2 separate regions of the Homo sapiens genome follow, and region 2 is linked to region 1. Evidence: promoter capture Hi-C in 16 types of primary human blood cells and fetal thymus (Javierre and others, 2016). All regions are on one chromosome and are shown on one strand. Each heading gives the region's core, a stretch centred on a gene start or on the middle of the fragment in contact. The rest is flanking DNA. Distances are from core to core; before and after follow the strand shown.

Region 1 (4,292 bases), core at 698-3,197:
TTCCCTGTCCAGGAGGCCTCTGTGGGTGAGAGTTGGCTGCGGACAGGGCGTGAAGGCACTTGAGGGTGGGGAAGTGACTCTGACTGGGAGATGCTGAGGACAGGGAGGAAACCACCAGATAAGGGACACTGGGGAGGAGGGGTGGACCCCTCAGGGCCAAGCACATGGAGCCTCATCACAAAGGCAAGATGGTGGCCAAATTCAAGGTCGCTGCAAAAGGAATGGAGAAGAGAGAATAGATTTGGCATTTGGAGGAAATGGTGACAATCATGAGCACCTACCCGGGACTCTCCATGGGTGCTATCTCTACATAAACTCATTCCACCCTCTGATTAATCCATTCTACATATGGGGAAACAAAGGCATGCGGTGTTTACGTCACTTGCCAAGATCTCAGGATTTGATCCAGGTGGCCTGGTTCCATGGTGCAGCCTCTCAGCCTGCATGGATGCCCCAGCTCAGAGCATGACTCTCAGGACAGGGGTCCCAGCAGCCCTCCCTCCCTGAGCAGCAGGGTGCCCGTGCTGCACCACTTCTGTCTAGGAATAGGACATTCTGACACTTTCCTGCCTCTTCCGAGGTCTAGCACTTACTCTATGCCTGCCTGGGAAGGTGGCAAGCTGGCCTGAGGAACAGACTCTTCCATTTTTTAGGGAGCTCAAGGCCACAGATGCTCTGAGATCTGGAGTCCAGAGACAGGAGCGGAGGCTTCTCCTGGTGACCACTCTGCTTAAAAACTTCATCAGATCCGTAGTTTCAGAGCCCCCCTGAACCCCATCCCTTACCTCTACCAGTTGCAGGTGGGTCTCTGGGGTGGGGCTGCCCTCCCCACCAGCACCCCAAGGGCTAAAAGGTTGAGGGGAGAACACCATCATTTGTACAGGGGGATCCTGGAAGATGAGGCCTGAGAAAGCCCTGCGGGGCCCCTCACCTTCTCCCTAGCTGTGGCCAAGAGTGTCTGGCCTTGCCTGCCTCAGGACCAGCCCAAAGTGGAGGTGAGAGGTGAGCCCCAGCCCCCAGGGGAAGGGTGATGGTGGTCTTGGTCTCAGCATGGTTCTGGTAGAGGTGGGTTATTTTGAAGATGATGAACCTTAAGCCTCTTTCTGATCTTGCTTTAAATAAATACTTCTGAACAACAGCAACAACAGAATAGTGTTGATAGGAAAGCCCTCCACTCCACCAGAACCACGCGGCCTTCTCGTCCTCCCCTCCTCCACTTCCTTCCTAAGTCACTGCTCCATGAGCTCTTCCACAGGAGATTTACAAAATAGAACACAAACAATCCAGTTCCCGCCTCTCACTCTGAACTCCTCCCAAGACTCGTGGGGTGCGGCAGCCCCTGGGAACACCCAGCCCTTCAAGGTCAAACACAGCCCCCGCCCCTCACTCTGGGGTACCCTGCCAGAATAAGCCCCGACAGCCATGTGGAGCAGAGCCTTCTTTTTTGTAAGTGGAAGTTCCAGGCTGGCTTTTCAAATCCCCTTTTAACCTCAGTGCTGTATTTCAAAATTCATTCCAGTTTTCCTGTAGTAATTAACAAAAATAAATATTTTAATTTCAATTAAAGTGAGGGTCTCGGAGAAGAAGCAGGAACTGAGTTTCCTGAGAGGCCCCGCTGAGGCTTTGTTGATATTTCTTCCTGCGACCTCTGCTCGGACCCTGGGAGCTCACAGGCCGTATCGCAGCTCTTATCTTTGGGGACCAGTTAAAGCATAACTGCGCCAGGCACAGAGTTGTCCTTTCAAATGTGCCGGCAGTGGGACGGAGACCCATGCGTCAAGTCTCCTCTAAGTTCACATGGGATTCTCTCCTTGTCCCAAAGCTGTCTCTGACTTAAAACCCTCCAACTGATTACCTGAATTCCAGAATATGTCCTGTGCTCTCTGCCCTTTCCCACGCCTTTGGTGAAGACCGGTGTTCTGAGGAAACAGACACTGTGTAGAAATGGCTCAGGTCCTTTAAAGCCCTGGTGTGAGGAGTGGGGAAGGGCTGGGCCAGAGGTCAGCTGGATTTGTTAGATTGACAGAGTGACGCGGACTTCCCCAGAGGCACGGGACCAAGGTGCATGCTCACGCTGTCTCATGCTCTCACACATAATGTGTGTGTGTGTGTGTGTGTATATATATATACACATATACATATATATATATACACACATATGCATATATATAAAACCCCAAGCAGCCTCTGGCTTAGCAGGTGCATTTCCCAGCAGGGCAATTAAAGCCATGGTCCCAGTAGTGGTCTTGGGGTCTCAGGGTATTTGGTCTGTGCAGCCACATGCTTCAGTCTCTGGACCCCAGGTCATCTAACGAGGTGGTCGTGTGGGGACTGGGATAGAAAAGGTGTCTGCACGGACGTGTGTGAAAGGGCTGGCACATCGCCAGTGCTCAGCACTGTCAGCTGCTATCACCAGTCATTCAATCATTCATTCATTCAGTTGTTCATTCTTCAACAGGCCGTTTTAAAAATGTGCCCAGTATACCAAAATCTCCGCTAAGCATTTAAAGAGGCAGAATGAAAGTTAGCAGTGGTGGTGAAACGAAGCTGGGAATGTGCTCTGAGGGCCTCCTTGTGGGCTTAATGAATATGTAGAAACCACGCATTTTAAATAGAGAGGGAGAAAGGGAGAGGTTCCTGGTCCTCTGCATGGGGACTTGTGTGTGGCTCTTTACTGTAGGCCTGTGCCACTCCTGCTCAACAGCTACCACAGAGGACGCCTTCAACAAATGTGAAGAACGAACAAAAGGTACAAATGTGAAGAACGAACAGGGTAGAAAGAAAGGAGAAAGCAAGGGTGAGGGTGAGAAATCAAGGGACAGAGAAGAGAGAAGAGGAGATAGCCTGGGAGTTCACACAGCCAAGAAGGTAGACACTCAGTTGAACCAGCAAGAGGCTGAGCCTAACTCTCCCTTTCGAATGGGCAGGAGTTCATGATATTTAATAAACAGAGGCCTTGCTCTGTAAGAGACAGGGTACCAGGCAGAGAGCAAGTCAGCATCGCAGGAGTCAAACGAGGCAGACAGCGGGGGCAGGGAGCTTGCCTCTGAAGGAGACCCAGGCTGCCAGAGTAGCAGGGAGTCTGGGCCAGTCCTCTTTTGGGAAGCGCTTCCTCGGCTTCTGCCCCCCCTCTCCTCTCCCTTTCCACCCACCATCCTGACATAATACTTCCTAATCTGGAAGTGTTGTCCAGAGAAGAACCTGCTCATTTCCTCTTAAGTAGGCAGGGAAGCACTAACGTCCAGCAGCATCGGAAACCCGTAGGAGCGCTCTCGGCAGTGCAGGGTGAGGGGACAGTCCATGTAGTCATGAGACGTGGGTGTCAGGCAAGCGTCTCTTTTCCAAAAGAGAAAAACATTAAAGGCCTCACAAACGGCGCCCAAAGACTAATTCTGCATAGCATCTTTGCGAGACCCTAGGTTCTTATGATGACTGGTTTTGCCTGAGAAAGAAAAAATTTTAATTTTGCTCTGACATGCCAATTCAACAAATCATTTTCACATAATATTCATGCAAAAAAAAAACAATTTGCCAGAAAACTTGGGAATCCATCCACATCTACAGCTTTTCCCTGCAGTCACACTACAGTGGGATCCCTCCATACAGGAGCGGCAGAGTGGAGCAGGCTAGAGATGCCTGTTTGTTTCTGTTTGCTGCACCGCAGCAAGCATTTCTGTCGTGCCCACTCTGTACTAGAAAGTACATGAACATCAGCCATAAAGGGAACTAGAAAGGTGGCCCACCCTCTTGGTGGAGAGAGAAGAGAGTGTGGTAGAAACAATAATAAGAAGTCTGCAGAACTTGACCCCTCCCAGCCTCTCCCACCTGCCAGCCTGGCCCTTGCAGAGAGATGCAGGCTGCCATTCTTAGGCCAAAGCCTGGGACAGTTGGGCTCAGCAAGGTAGGCATCCGTCAAGCAAGGAGGAGCAGGGGTCAGCAGTGACCCCAGCAGCCAGCAGGGAGAAAGGTGCATGTGACAAGGACACCAGAGGCCGTGGGTCAGGATCAGCCAGGGTCAGGGTAGCATTTCTAGGAATTCACTCTGTTGGGCGCTGTGCTGGCTGCTTCTCACATATTATTCCTTTCTTACTCTCAGAGCAGAGATTTCAATTGCAGCGAGATTGTGGAGGCAGCCAGGGAGGTGGGGAGGGTGGTGTCTTCTAAAAGCATTTTCAGTATCCATGTGGTTTCAGTAATAATAATAATAATAAACCAGTGAAAAGTAAAACAGGACAAAAATCTTCATAGGCAGTGAACCATATCAGAGAGTCCAAGAAAGCACAATGAGAGTG
Region 2 (4,292 bases), core at 967-3,466, 390 kb before region 1:
ACTGTGGTTTGGGCACTCACCTTTAAATGGAAATTTGTCTGGCTTAGCCCCTTTTAGTGCCTTGCCATTGCCCACATAAGAAATCCAAGGCCAGGCGCAGTGGCTCACGCCTGTAATCCCAGCACTTTGGGAGGCTGAGGAGAATCATTTGAGGTGAGGAGTTCAAGAACAGCCTGGCCAACATGGAGAAACCCCGTCTCTACTAAAAATACAAAATTAGCTGGGCGTGGTGGCATGTACCTGTAATCCCAGCTACTCGGGAGACTGAGTCAGGAGAATCACTTGAACCTTGGAGGCAGAGGTTGCAGTGAGCCAAGATCGCACACCATCGCACTCCAGCCTGGGCAACAAGAGTGAAACTCCATCTCAAAAAAAAAAAAAAAAATCCAAGTATGCTACCAGCACACACAGGGTCCTCCCTCTCCAGTCTGCCATTGCCAGCTGTGCCTTGCACGTCATGATCCAGCAACACCGAACTGCCCATAGTCCCCACACTCACTGTGCCATTTCTGAACACCTTACAATTTTTTATCCTCCCTCTCTGGCCAAATCCTATTTTGACAACAAAAATATCATTTTCCTCAGGACACCCTTCCGAATTCTATAGACCACATGAGGTTCCCCTCTGCATTTCCATGATGCTTTTTGTTAATGAACTTTTAAGAGTTCCTTTTGCTGGGTGCAGTGTCTCACGCCTGTAATCCCAGCACTTTGGGAGGCTGAGGTAGGCGGATCATAAGGTCAGCAGATCAAGACCAGCCTGACCAACATGGTGAAAGCCCGTCTCTACTAAAAATACAAAAATTAGCCAGGTGTGGTGGTGCGTGCCTGTAATCCCAGCTACTCAGGAGGCTGAGACAGGAGAATCGCTTGAATCCAGGAGGCGGAGGTTGTAGTGGGCCGAGATCGCGCCACTGCACTCCAGCCTGGGCGACAGAGCGAGACTCTGTCTCAAAAAACAAAAACAAACAAAAAAAGAGTTCCTATTATGTTTCATCTGAATGAATTAGACTTAGTACACAGTTGATTTTCTCCACATCTGATGACTAGCTGACACTGAACATCAGTAAGCTAGCCTTCCGACATGAGAACTTCATGTGCATTCGGTAACTCCGCATTTCATGTGATCATTACCTGCATTACTCACATGAAATCTCACTGACCTGGATTGTAACAACCTTTCCACATGTCTTCCTCAGCAGTCCCTCAGTCCCTCGAGAGTGGTAAATATGTCTAATTGATTTACATATTCTAATATCTGACAGTGTGACTGTTTCAAAACAGTTGCTCCATAATTGTTGAATTAATGAAATACTAACTCTCCTCCATTTCAGCGTAGTATCCTTCTGTCTTTATGACAAGGATTGCTAATTTCAAGCTTTTAGCCCAGTTGTTTGGTAGTCAAGGAATATATAAAACTGTTTCCTCATGGAACAAAAATAGTAATATCCACAAAACCCCATTTTTCCATCCACCTCCTGTATATAAATAAACCTAAGATCATTAAAAGGGATGTCATGACTTGAGAGGTCTCCACCTGAAACTGGGACTTGACTTTGGTTTTATTGGCTCTGCTAGGCTGTGGGCTGAATATAAAACCATGCCTAGTCCTTTGAATACACTTATTATTTCTTTACAAATGCAATTTGTAGTGGACTTCCTGAAAATGTTTCAGAACAGGATATAGCATCTTATTTTTTTTAACTTTTTCTTTAAAATATTCAAGGAAATCTAAAAAGCAGAGAGAGAAAACTCAGCGCAGCTCTGGCAGCAAAGATCAGAACCATCAGAGGCCAGCGTTAGGGAAGGTTATGGTAAGAGGCAGCACTTGCAGTCAAAGTCAGATTCTTCATCAGACGCAGTGCAACGCCGACCCAAGCAGCTCCTGGCTGGCACGGGGCCATGCTCCAGGCTGGGTCTTCTCCAGTCCTTTCGTTCACACCTGCACTTGTACGTTTTGCTTCAGTTTATTACTCTGTCTTTCCTTTGCACCTAAACAAAACAACTACTTTCCCCACCCGCCCCCGCCCCCCTCAACCCCGAGTAAGTTTGGACCATTCTCTCAGACATTTCTTGGTATGTAGAAATTTCTGCCTGGAATAAAGTTACTTGAATGACGACGTTAACCCTTCTTGGATTTGCCCTTGGATCGTAATTCAAGGACCCTGTGCCCCTCACTAAGTCTCAGATGCATCTCTCTTGTTTAGATAATTATTGTACATCTTCTTCTGGGTCTTCAGGCCTGGCATTCTTCTTGACATTCTGACGTCTGCAAATCTATCTCATTCACTCCCTTATGTTATCGACTGCAACTTTCTTCAGAGCACTGGCTTTTTGATGCCCGAGTCAATTAGATCAGGATAATTTGTGAGATAAATGGAAAATTCCTACACGTGCTCTTGTGTCAATATTTTCTCTCCATGAAAAATCACACTTTGCTCCTTAGCCGCTTGGGTTGTTACCTTAGCACAGTATGACTGAGTCAGGAGAGCATATTTCTGTTTTTCACTGATTCAAATCTAAGCTGAGGAGCTACCCGCTAGGCTGGCACCTTCCCTCACTACCTACCTGGGCCTTCCCCTGCATTTGGTGGGTGCACTCCTGAGCGGCTTGCTGAGTCAGAACTAGTTGGAAGATGACTAGGACTTCCAACAAGGTTGCTGACAAGTTTCTCTTCTAATACATGTGAGCAATTTCCTGGCCTGCTTTTTTTTGCTGCCTCTCCACTAGATGTTCTTTGAAAGCATGGTAACCAGTCATGGAAAGGTTTTCTGACATACAGGAGACCAAACGTTGGCTAGCTAATTCTTAGGCTGAAATTATTACTGTAATTTGAAATAATAATTATAAAAACATGCAGGATGTGAATCTTTAATAATCCAACCAAATTCAGAGACCGAAACATGTTACCAGGCAGCTTGTAAAAATGTTCCTGGTACAGTATGCTGTTGCATTCTGGATAGCGTCTCTTACCCCTCTGAGCAGTGCAATCACCCTGTAATAATTCTCCACCTTTTACACTCTTCTGCCTGGAAGGTGGCATAGTGGTGTAAATAAGCTTTCTGAATTTAAACAACAACAACCCTGATTTGCGGCATTTGCTGACTTTTGTTGTGTAAAGATTCCTGCCATAGCTGATTTCAAGCTATAAACAGTTTAGCAGCTTCCTCATAGAATTGCTGTGCATTTAACAATTGGTGCTCTGAGCCCCCAGGAGCTGCCTCCAGGATAACCCTGGGTGTGGAGCCCAACCTGAGACACCCATCGCCTCTCTTACGCCCAACTGAGGGTTTGCCAAGGTCCATGTGAGAGGTGAGGCCAGCTGGACTTCCTGGGTCCAGTGGGGACTTGGGGAACTTTCCTGTCTTACAAGAGGATTGTAAAACGCACCAATCAGCACTCTGTAAAACACTAATCAGTGCTCTGTAAAACACACCAATTGGCGCTCTGTCAAATGCACGAATCAGCAGGATTCTAAACGTAGCCAATTGTGGGGAGGATTGAAAAAAGGGCACTCTGATAGGACAGAAACGGGACATGGGTGGGCATAATAAAGGAATAAAAGCTGGCCATCCCAGCCAGCAGCAGCAACCTGCTCAGGTACGCTTCCACGTTGCAGAAGCTTTGTCCTTTCGTTCTTCACAGTAAACCTTGCTACCCCTCAGTTCTTGGGTCTGTGCCATCTTTAAGAGCTGTAACACTCACCATGAAGGTCTGCGGCTTCATTCTTTGAAGTCAGTGAGACCATGAACCCACCAGCAGGAACCAGCTCCGGACACACATGGTCTCTTCAGAAACAAAGTGGTCTCAGCAATGAACGTTTCCAGCGAACTCCCTATATAATTTGAATGTAACAATATATCACAACATAAACAGGCTTTCCAATTTATGCAATAGGCTTTACGTTTTCTGTATTTTTGTCTGCATGTATAGAATTGACAAAGCCTATATTTTCCACATAGGAAAATATACAACGAAGAGTTATTTTGTTTTTGTATCAGTGTTGCGTGGAATATTCCACTTCAGTTAAAACAGCTGTTGTTTGGGCAGAGTATCAACGTGTGGCACACACAAGCTAAACAACCCAGTAGAGACTGCATTCTTCAAGAGGAGCTGCTTACCTGGCAATGCCCGCTGGGAGCTTCCCTAACTGGAGGTCCCCTCGCTGGGAGCATCCTGCCAGTGCAGACAGACGTATAACCTGGGATGTCTGTTTTTTCTTTTTTCTCTTGACCTAGTCAGAAGATTGAACATGTTGTAACTGTAGAAAGCCCGTCATCCTTGTGTATGCA

Evidence for each region. The method cuts DNA at HindIII sites, captures the fragments that hold promoters and counts their contacts. A CHiCAGO score of 5 or more calls a contact.
Region 2: a fragment that was not itself captured here is called in contact with the fragment with the promoter of EGFR-AS1 in region 1 in 2 of 17 cell types (endothelial precursors and activated CD4 T cells); the score reaches 8.1 in endothelial precursors.

The regions. Positions count from the first base shown.
Region 1 is chr7:55,187,002-55,191,293 of GRCh38, forward strand. EGFR-AS1 (EGFR antisense RNA 1) reads right to left here and starts at 1,948. Exons shown (of 2, transcript NR_047551.1): 1 at 1,856-1,948. All of the region lies in intron 20 of EGFR (epidermal growth factor receptor), which reads left to right. The HindIII fragment of the contact is 13,947 bases long and covers 1-4,292 here.
Region 2 is chr7:54,800,428-54,804,719 of GRCh38, forward strand. SEC61G-DT (SEC61G divergent transcript) reads left to right here. Exons shown (of 3, transcript NR_110040.1): 3 at 4,239-4,292. Among named protein-coding and RNA genes, the nearest start is that of SEC61G-DT, 43 kb to the left of the region's middle. The HindIII fragment of the contact is 1,680 bases long and covers 1,377-3,056 here.